2 separate regions of the Homo sapiens genome follow, and region 2 is linked to region 1. Evidence: promoter capture Hi-C in 16 types of primary human blood cells and fetal thymus (Javierre and others, 2016). All regions are on one chromosome and are shown on one strand. Each heading gives the region's core, a stretch centred on a gene start or on the middle of the fragment in contact. The rest is flanking DNA. Distances are from core to core; before and after follow the strand shown.

Region 1 (5,030 bases), core at 394-2,893:
AGAAGAGGGAGGATAATCTGTAGGGGAATGGGGAAGGAGGAAGTTGTAAATTGGGAGGAAAATGATATAAAAAGTTTTGTTAAGAAAGTCTTGCTGTATGCTATACAATTCACCTCTTTCTGTTTTCTCAAAAAGCAATCCTCAGTAAAGACCTACATTACTTTTCTCTCTCTCTATATATATATATATGTGTATATATATATATATGTATATATATATATATATATATGTGTATATATATATATATATATATTTTTTTTTTTTTCTGAGCAGGATTTGTGGGGTTTTTTTTCGGGGGGAGGGGGTGGATGTGATACTGTACTAAGGTTGGTTTCTAGGTGGTTTAATGTAACTCTTATTACATATTTAGCTTAGAGGAGTCAGCAACTCCACCGCAAAGGCTGTTGTGTTTAATAACCATCTCCATTGCTTTGGCAATCTGTCTGAAACATCGTAGGCACTCAAAACAAAACAAACCAAGACAACTTGAACAAAATGAAACAAATAAGTGAAACAAAATTTTTAATTATAAAAGAAAATTTAGATGTTAGGCTTTTCTAACACCAATCACAGTATGAAAGATGAAGATTACAAACCTTAACCGGCTTAGTACAGAATACTTACAAAACGTAGAGCAGAGTTTCTCGGACTCTAACTCCTGACCTCAAGTGATCCGCCCGCCTCAGCCTCCCAAAGTTCTGGGATTACAGGCGTGAACCACCGCGCCTGGCATAGAGCAGGGTTTCTCAACCTCTGCACTGTTGTCATCTGCCGGATAATTCCCTGTAGTTGGGGGGTTGGTCTGGTGCCTAGTAGGGTGTTCAGCAGCCGACTTGTGACTTGGCCTCCACCCACCAGTTGCCCCCCGCCGCCACCCCCCCACCACCACCATTTGAGACAACCAAAAATATCTCCAGATGTTACCAAATGTCCCCCGGGGAGAAAACTCACTCCAGGCTGAGAAGTACCACATTAGACGTGTTCTAACAAAAATTACCTGTAACCCTCACCTAGAAATGTAAACTTTTTGTTTACATAAATAAAAATTACAGAGCACGGCTACATTGAACTTATTGTTCCATAGTCAGTTTTTTCTTCACTCAGTAATGCAGCATTAACATTTTCGTTATGTGATATCCCTCTACAGGATGAGTTTTAATGGATGCTGGTGCTAACATCGTATGAAATTGAGGTAGGAGGCGGGACTCTGACACCAGACCAGATTGAGGACTAGCTAATCATCATACTTTACATAAGGAATCCGTAGGATTGGAGAGTTGATTGTTTCAAATAAGGCTGGTTTCCTTATTTGGTTATTTCCTTAGAATAATAACTCCAAATCTGATTATTTCCTTAGAATACATTCTTATGAGTAGAACTGCAGCTCAAACTAAATTTGGTGCTGTCCAGTGGTATGGCGATGGACTTCAGAACATCCTCCACTCTTGCCCTCACCCCACAAGAACCCTTTACTCGGGATCCATTCTCACGCAGTCTTCCTCCCCGACCGCCCCGCGCGTCCGCTCGGCGGGATGACAAAGACCGCCTCGGGTGGGGTGGTGAGCAGTACCGGCCTCCTCCAGCAGGGGGCGCTGTGGGATCCGCCGCTGTCCGGGACGAACCAGCAAGCCGCTCTCGGTCCACACACGCTCTGTCTGCCTGCCCCGAGTCCCCCGGGAGGCCGCGGGGTTTGGGGAAGTGTTTCTAGGAGACGGCGCTCACCGGCTGCACCTGCGCCGTTGACGCCACCGGGGCCGGCAGACAGACCCGCGGCGCTGGCTGGTGGAGGGAGTTCCCGCTTGCTCTCTGTCGCTGTCACCGCCCTGTTTCTGTAGCCGTATGGTACGCCTGTGAGACCGGCTGCCGGCTGACGTCTCCTTGCGATGGAGCATATCCGGACGACCAAGGTAGTCGGGCGCGGGATCGCCAGTCTTCAGGGGCCCTGCTCTGACCCGGCTGAGGCAGGAGGAGACGAAGGCTCTGCTGGCCTGACTGGGGCTGGGAGCCGGCCCGGCGGAGACCCGGCCCGGGGCGGGAGGGTCTGGCCAGGCCTGGTCTGGGAGGGCAGGGTTAGCTTGGGCCAAGCGGGGTGCAGAGGCCTCCTGTACCTACAGGAGCAGGGGTCCCACTTTCAGCATCTTGGAGTGCGTAGAGATAAGTCTGGGAAAACTGGTCACCGCCCTCCTAGCTCTACGTTTTCTCGGGCAAAATTGGGGCTCCTTTAACTTTGGAGTCTTTCAGCCTTTCGTTGCCTCATCAACCGGAAAACCGTCTTCAAATTAACATTATGATGCTGTGTAAGCTTGTCCTTGCTCACATTTCATTGTCCCGTGTCACAGATTCACAGTACGAGTTTTGGAGGAACCGAGATCAGCACTCCGCTCCACCTCCCTTTGCTGTCTCGGTCTCCAGTCTTTCGCATCCGGTGTTTCCGTGTCTGTGCTTCATACTTCAGGCATTGTCCTGTGTCAGTAGTCAAGAGTTCTGGAGAAGGGAAAAATGTTATTCCATATTTTAAAAGGTCGGATGCAGCTTTATTCGATTGACCTTATTGCACTCCATGCTTAATTTTTGTGTGTGGAAGACCTTCATTTTGAGAACGAACAAATATTTTTATTTCGTTACAAATTTAAAAACGGAAGGAAATGACATCAGAATGTTACCAAATTACGTTTCCAACGACATTTAAGTTTAACTTTGAGAGGGAGAAAAACATAAATCGAGACGAGAAGAATAACATTTTAAAATCACTGCGAGCCCACTGCAAGGCAGCCTCTTGACGTTTTGGCAAAGCTGAAGCCCTTTAGTTGCTGCCCATCTTAAAATTACGGCTCATTTAGGGAACCACAGATGTTCGTTATCTTCATTGTTCCAAGAAGAATTTGTGTTTTTAAAAATTTTTTAAATGTTTCACAAACCTTTTAAAGGTATACATAAATTTTTATTGGAGCTTGTCTTTAACATTGTGCATACCGTATCTAGTAAAATTGAAGATTCTGAAAACTAACCCCTTAACATTTTTTTTTAAGAGAAGAAAGATAAAATAACTTGAGAATTCAAGTTGTGGGTACTTAAATTTTGAAAATGGAAGGGTGCTTAAGTCTATAACCAAACTCGTAGAAGGTGCACAGAGGAAAAGAGGACTAGAGTGGACATTGGATCAGGTTCTTGTATTGGTTCCAGATATGTATTATGTAGTAGCTAAGTGCACGTGACTTCCTTCTGCATCAGTTCGAAGCTCCTCTATTTTTCATATGCTTTCTACGGTGCATAGCACACAATCGAAAACCGGTAAAAGGCTGGGCACGGTGGCTCACGCCTGTAATCCCAGCACTGTGGGAGGCCGAGGTGGGCGGATCACTTGAGGTAAGGAGTTCGAGACCAGCCTGGACAACCTGGCAAAACCCCATATCTACTAAAAATACAAAAATTAGCCGGGCATGGTGGCAGGCGCCTGTAATCCCAGCTACTCAGAGGCTGAGGCAGGAGAATTGCTTCAACCGGGGAAGTGGAGATTGCAGTGAGCCAAGATGGCACCAGTGCACTCCAGCCTGGGCAATAGAGCGGGACTCAGTCTCAAAAAAAAAAAAGAAAGCCGGGTGGGGTGGTATGTACCTGTAGTCCCAGCTACTCGGGAGGCTGAGATGGGAGGATGGCTTGAGCCCACGAAGTGGAGGTTGCAGTGAGCCAAGATTGCGCCATTGCCCTCCAGCCTGGGTGACATAATTGGGGGGGGGGGGGCGGAAAAGAATAAAAAATCAGTAAAAGTAAACTGAATCTGATCAACTAGAGCAAATCCTATTCTTAGGTGGATGATAAGAGTGAACAGACTTGGAAAATATTTAGGATCCCTTGGTTATTTTAAATCTTTCCTCATTCAATTTATTATGAATATATATCTTTGTTTTTATTTGTAGAGTTGTAGCCCCTCTTATTAGCTCTTTGAAAGTTGTCACTGGTGACTTTCATTTTGTCTGATATTCCTCCTTATCTACCAACTGATGAACTTTTCTTCAAGTAATGCTCTGATTTTGACTTATCTTTACACAGTGGTCTCATGCTAGTGGTTTAATAAGGCCTTTTTAGAGACTAAGAAATTTCTGATGAATTGTCTATTAAAACTACTTTTCAAATATGCTCCTTTATTACTTTGGGTTGTTTTTCTAGTATTGGATCACTACTCTGGAGTAATATTAAGTGAGTGTATGTAGACCGCAAATAAATATTTTCTAGGTACCTAGTATGTGCCAGACACTGTATTGACACTGGGTATATAACAGCAAGATAGAGGTGGACCTCAGGGTACATTCTGTTAATTGTTGTGGGGACTGTAACATGTTCTTAAATTATTAATGTATTGGGAAATAACTTACTTTTAAAAGATTGGTTTGAACATAGCCAAACTTTTGTTTCCATTATGCATAGCCTTCACCTGGATTTAGTTAGTTTGCTGCAAAAATAAGTGTAAGTATTTAAAAAGCAAAAGTGGATTGTTTTAGATTTATTAGCTGTTTTGACCTCTATGTAGTTTAGTCATTAGGATCAAAATTGACCGTAGAGTGTCCTTTATGACTATTTAGTGATTTTTGTTGTTCAGTCAGCTCTATTTGAAAAGTAATAATTACCATTTATTGAGCAACTATATGTCAATATAGCCAATTATACAATATTATTACTTTATAATATGTACAATTGTATAAATCTGTTAATTTATACATTATCATCACTGATCTCTTAAATAACCCTGTCAGTTGGGTAGTATTATCTCCATTTATAGGTGAGGAGGAAATAGGCTTAGAGAATTTAAGTAACCTGCTCAATTAGTTCACAAGAGATAGAATTAGTATTTAAACTAAGGTGTGTTTAACTCCAAAGACTATGTATGCTCTTTCCAGTGCCTCTCTAGTTTTAATCTAATTGTTAAATGTGCATTAGTATTAATTCAGAAATAAATGCTGATGATAATTCTAAGAGCTTCCCCCCCAAACCTCTTTTTGTCATAAATAAATAATATTTATGCGGTATTGTTT
Region 2 (5,230 bases), core at 1,567-4,066, 3.6 Mb after region 1:
CACCACACCGGACCTTCCTCATTGCCCCAGACTCACTATTAGTGACTATCCCCAGAGCTGATGGGCTGCCCCAGTTCTGTTCACATGGACCATTATCCCAAAGCTGGCACCGCCCCCTAGAGCCCATCTGTGCTGGGCCTCACCTCCAAGGCCAGGCAAGGCAGTGGGAGAGGAAGGCAGTCAGAGCTGCTCCACTCTGGCCCTCATGACATGGTTCTCTGGCTTAAGAGCCCCCAACGCATTACAGAACCGCACTCTTCAGACCACACAAATGTAGGCAGACTGTCGAGAGGGGCAGGGCATGAGGCTGCAGAAAATTAATGATTAAGCCTCTTCCCTGCAGAGCTTCCTGCTCACCCAGAGAAGCTCGAACCAGGGCTGCCAGATCAACCATCTCAGATCCTGCACCGGGGTAAGTTCGGATCTGTAGCAACCTGAGCACATCTCATAGAGTTTATATAGGAAATGACTAACTGAATGGGAGTTATAACTCCACTAATTTTTCCAGAACCTGAAGCAATCCTAAAACCATCTCCTTAAACACCCAGTGTTTTCCTGAGACATTGAAGAGTCAGATACATAGAACAGAATTAAAGTTCAAAACCCTGGAAATAAGTTTTAAACACCTGTTTAAAAAAATCATACTATCATATTTCTCCCCTCTAGTAAAACCTTCACCTGACCCAATTTGAATGGAAGCCCCAGTTTGGGTGCTCATCTGAGGTCCTGATGAAGACCGGCCTTTCAGAGCTACCTAACCCCAGCCAAAAAGGGAACAGACTTAGGTTTCCTAAACAAGTTAAATAGCAGATCAGGCCCAGCGTTCATGTTTTTATTATTTTACATTACTATTTCCCCAAATGATTTTCTGCTCACATTTCTATCCATCTAGCAAGGCTGGAGTGCTTTAAAAGTGAGCTCTATATATAGGCATATAGATATACAGATGAAACAAGACATCTCGCTCCCCCAGCCTACTGCACAGAGATACAATTGCGAGTTCCTTTTCTCCTTGTTCAATCTTATCTCCACACCACCAATCCGAGGGGGAAAAAAAAAAAAAAAGGCTCCTTCAAGGTCCCACCTAAGTTGTCACCTCTGCAGCTCCTGCTGGAACAGTAAGACTCCCCCACCCCCACGTCCTCTGCACTGCTGCTGCTGTGTCACTGCCAAGCTTGCCAGCAGCTGCAGTCACCTGCGGCTGCATGGGGGCGGCAAAAATCCTTTTTCCAGCGCGTTTCCTTCTGCTGTTTGATTTCAGGTAGAAAATGCACCTTCTATTTTAATCAAGGTGTAAACCCACCGCACCCCCCACCTACAGTTACTCTTTTCTAGAGAAACTGAGTGTGAGGACGAACTCCCCAGAGGGGAGCCGGGCTGCGGAGGAGAGGCTGCTGCCGGAGGAGGAGGAGGGCCGAAGGTGAGGCCGCGGCGGCGCGCGGGAGCGCCAGGTGTGCCAGAGCCGGGGCACCGCAGCCCCCTCGCCCCCTCCCGGCGCCTGTGCCCTCCCTCCGCCCTCCCCGCGCGAGCCGCGGTGTCCTAGCGCCGCCGCGGCCTCGTTCCGGGCGGGGCTGGGAAGGCGAGGGTAGGAGGCTCCCGGCACACGCACCACCGCTCTGCGGAGGTTGCTAATATTGGGACCTGCCGCAGCGGCAGCAGCGGGAGACCGCGGCACTGCTGTCACCCCGGGGGCCCGCTTCTCACTGCAACCGGATGAAAGACTTAAATAACCCTCCTGCCTCACCCTGCTTCCCCACCCCCACTGCGCACAGCCACCCACTCAACTCCATCCCAGCCAGAGTGAGTGGCACAGCGGAGCGCCAGAGCGCCCTTCCCCCTCGGCCGACGCCAGGCCGACGGGCTAGCTAGCGGCTCGGCGCCCCCAGTCCCCAACCTGGGCCGGGGCTTCCGCTCCCCTCCCATCCAACACTACCCCTAGCCCCTCCCCCCAGCCCCCACATCCCCCCCAGCCCCCACATCCCCCGCAACACTGTACCGAGAGCGTCTAAGGAGTGGAGATGCCACTTCCCTGACAACACCTTTCTCTGACCTCTAGGGGTGAGGGGTCTAGCTTTTTGTTTAACGGTTTCTATTGAGCCACTGTAGCCCGCCGCTGTCCTCATCCGCTCACCCTAGAATGCGCCTCTCCTGCCCTCCCCTCCCGCGTGGCCCCCGCCCTTGCATCCGCGCTCTCTCCAGTGGCAGAGTTACGGGATTTCTAATGACTCGACTGCATGTGGCAAACGTCCTATCCTAAAGGTGACTGCATCAAAAAAAAAAAATGCTCATGGAGGGAAGGGGTGCGTGAAGAAGCGCCAACTAGAATATCCCATAATCTCTGCACACCAGGGCCCAGTCGTGCTGCACCGGAGTTCTAATAGGGTCTCTCAAAGACAGGCTCGGCTGATCCACACAATAAAACCGGCTCGGGCCCGCCGCGGCGCCCCTGCAGCCGTGCGCCCCCGCCGCGCTCCCGCGCACACCCCGGGCTCCCCCGGTTGTGAAGCCGGAGCGGAGGCGGGGGCGCGGGAAAGCCAGATCGCGATCGGCGAGCTCGCGAGCTCTGCTCTCGGAAAGCGGTTAACAATAGCACGCCGCCCCCTCCGCCCGCCTCCGCGGCCCTTTGTCCCCCCCACCCCCACTCCTTTCCCTGCGGCTCCGGCCAGGGGCCCCCGACCCACCTCCCGGGCACCACGGAGCCCTTCGAGTCTCCAAAACCCGGCTGCGTGCTTCAGAAGAAGGACACGGAATGGGACAGGGGAGCTCAGGGGTCCGACCTCCAGCCCGTCCTCTGTCCCCGCCACCAACTCTCCTGCCGCTGCGCGCGCCTCCAGCCGTTCCCACACCGCAAACCACCGTGCAGCCCAGGGCGGCGGCTGTCAGCCCCGCCAGACCCACTCTCACACACAAAGAGAAAGCGAAGGGGCTCAACTTGGGCCAAAATGAAAAACCGGATTCCCTAAACGCGGCCAGAAGTGTGTCAGCCCCTGCCTGCCGCCCCCCGGCCCCCGTGGTCCCCGCAGCACTGAAGGGCGCACCCGAGCCAGGCGGAAAGGGAGCCGGAACGCGAGCGCGTTTAGGACCGCGCGGAGCCGGCCGGGCAGCCGCTAAGTGCGCCGCGGGGCCCGGGCGGCCGAGCGGGCACCTGCCGACCGCGAGCGCGGGAGGGCTGGAGCTCCGGCCGCCTGGCACACCTAGGCCGGCCGCCCACGCCGCTCGCTTCGGTCGGCGCGGCCCCGACACCCTGCGGGTGGCCGCCGCGGCCCCGGACACGCTCGCTCGCCCACCCAGGGCCGCCCACTGCCTGTTGTTCTGGTATCGAACGCTAGGCAGGGTGGCAGCCCTTAAAGAGGCCAGATGGAAACGGCACTTTTAGTAAAGTTTAGTCTTCTCTTTGCAACAACCAGAATCTACCTTTACTTCTGGGGTGGGGAGGGGATAGTTATATTTCAACTGAATAATTGCAAAGCAAAGAGCTATAACTTTTTTTTAAGCAGCGAGTGGAGACGGCCGGAGCAATTTCACACTACTAGGCTCAGCTGTGGGCTTAGGCTCAGGGGTGAGCATGAGGAGCAAATCCTGGGCCTCGTGGATCTGGGACCATCCCCAGCCCAGGCCTAAGTCCTCCTCACCTTCTGGCATCATCCGCAGCCGCACGAAGCTAAACATACAGTTTAGATTGTGTTCAACATCTGGCACTAAAGCATGAGGAAGAAAAATCACCAGAGGACTTTGTTTTTTACGACCTAGTTTAAGTGTTGTCAGGTGGGTTCACTCAGAAGTTAACTCCTTCCAACAGTCTAGTTGCCCAAACTGGCGCTTATTTTTTTTTTTTTAAGTAAGGAAAAAACTCAAGAGTCCACCCAATTGGGACTGTGTTAGTTGACTTCGTGCCGTTGGGCTCAGGGTGCCCCGGCAAGCACGTGTGTGCAAGCATAAAGTGGGCAGAGCCACCAGCCCTCGAGTCTGCAGCCCTCAGTGCTGAGTCACAAATACCCTCCGCTGAAAAATGAAATCCTCGGAATGCCCTTTAAAATTCGCTCGCAGCGTTTGCACGCGCGCACACACTCACACCAGAGAGCCACGCAGGAGACCTACACAGGGCTGCACACTATGGAAATTTAAAAGCAGAGGTTATCACTTGATAGCTGGAAGGACAAAAACCCCTGAGCGCCCTGCCTCTTCCCAAGTCATTTTCCCCCAAGCCTCTGCCCCTGCTTTTCACGGAGCCTAAAATATGACTTTAGTCCTCCCAACAGGACAATCCGTCAGCAACCTTCGCCTATGGGGCTTTCAGACCCTCACAGGGGAGAATAAACAATGCACTTAATATACAATTCAAGTAGTATACTTACTAGAGGAAAGGGGGAAAGGAAAAAAACCTTAATTTGGGCACAAGATACCCACTGCCTTCAAGAAACTGCATTAAGTTCTTAGTAGTTAATGATTAAAGCTTTAAACTCGTGCAATCAGTCCATTCAAAAGAAACTTCCTAAACCCGTGTATCTGATGCAAAAGAACTGGAAACTTGTATTATATTTATAAATTATGCCCCCCTTTAAATTAAAAGTAGGGGGCCTTTCAGTGTATACTTGCATCAGTGCCAGCAGCAGATCTGCAATTCCGGAGGCATTTTTTTTTCGGAGCTGGCAAGACAGAGAGAGAGAGAGACAGAGATACAGAGAAAGAGGGGAGGAGGGGAGAACCCTTCCCACGTCCCCCACCCGGCCACCACCTTCTTGGTAGTTATAATTTCAACATGTCATCTCATGGACACTAAAGGGTTAATGGTATACCTACCAAATCGGCTGTGGTCTTTCCTGGTTCCCTGGATAGTACCATTGGGGAAGATTTCTAAGTGAAATCCAGTCCTGCAGTATAGCTGCCTCCGCCTGAGAATCCCCTTTAAATGATCCAAGTCCGTGACTGCGGGTCCCCTGGGGAGCCCCCCTGCTTCGGACTGACCCAGGTGGTCACTTAACAAAACCGGGCTGTCCACCGGCAACACGGGCACATTCCCAAACGGTACCGCATCCTGCACACCGAAATAGTTCCCAACTTCACCTAAGGGAGCCATCAGAGGACTCGGCTTTTGGAGCACAAGAATAAACAATAATGATGGTGTCAACCCAGGAGATATTAGGCGAGGTATATCCAACTCCCCTCCCTTACTGCAGTTGCAGAGAGAGAGAGAAAAAAAAGGTTCTTTTCTTCAATCCATTAAATGCAT

What was found. The method cuts DNA at HindIII sites, captures the fragments that hold promoters and counts their contacts. A CHiCAGO score of 5 or more calls a contact.
Region 2: a fragment that was not itself captured here is called in contact with the fragment with the promoter of MTMR6 in region 1 in 1 of 17 cell types (fetal thymus); the score reaches 6.0 in fetal thymus.

The regions. Positions count from the first base shown.
Region 1 is chr13:25,284,101-25,289,130 of GRCh38, reverse strand. MTMR6 (myotubularin related protein 6) reads left to right here and starts at 1,643. Exons shown (of 14, transcript NM_004685.5): 1 at 1,643-1,907. The coding sequence starts at 1,884. RefSeq lists enhancers at 1,330-1,499, 1,600-1,939, 1,643-2,263. The HindIII fragment of the contact is 4,901 bases long and covers 1-2,304 here.
Region 2 is chr13:21,671,760-21,676,989 of GRCh38, reverse strand. It overlaps FGF9 (fibroblast growth factor 9), which reads right to left. Exons shown (of 3, transcript NM_002010.3): 1 at 4,801-5,230. The coding sequence starts at 5,077. Among named protein-coding and RNA genes, the nearest start is that of FGF9, 3.3 kb to the right of the region's middle. RefSeq lists silencers at 1,494-1,543, 2,954-3,083, 3,104-3,323. The HindIII fragment of the contact is 3,279 bases long and covers 1,177-4,455 here.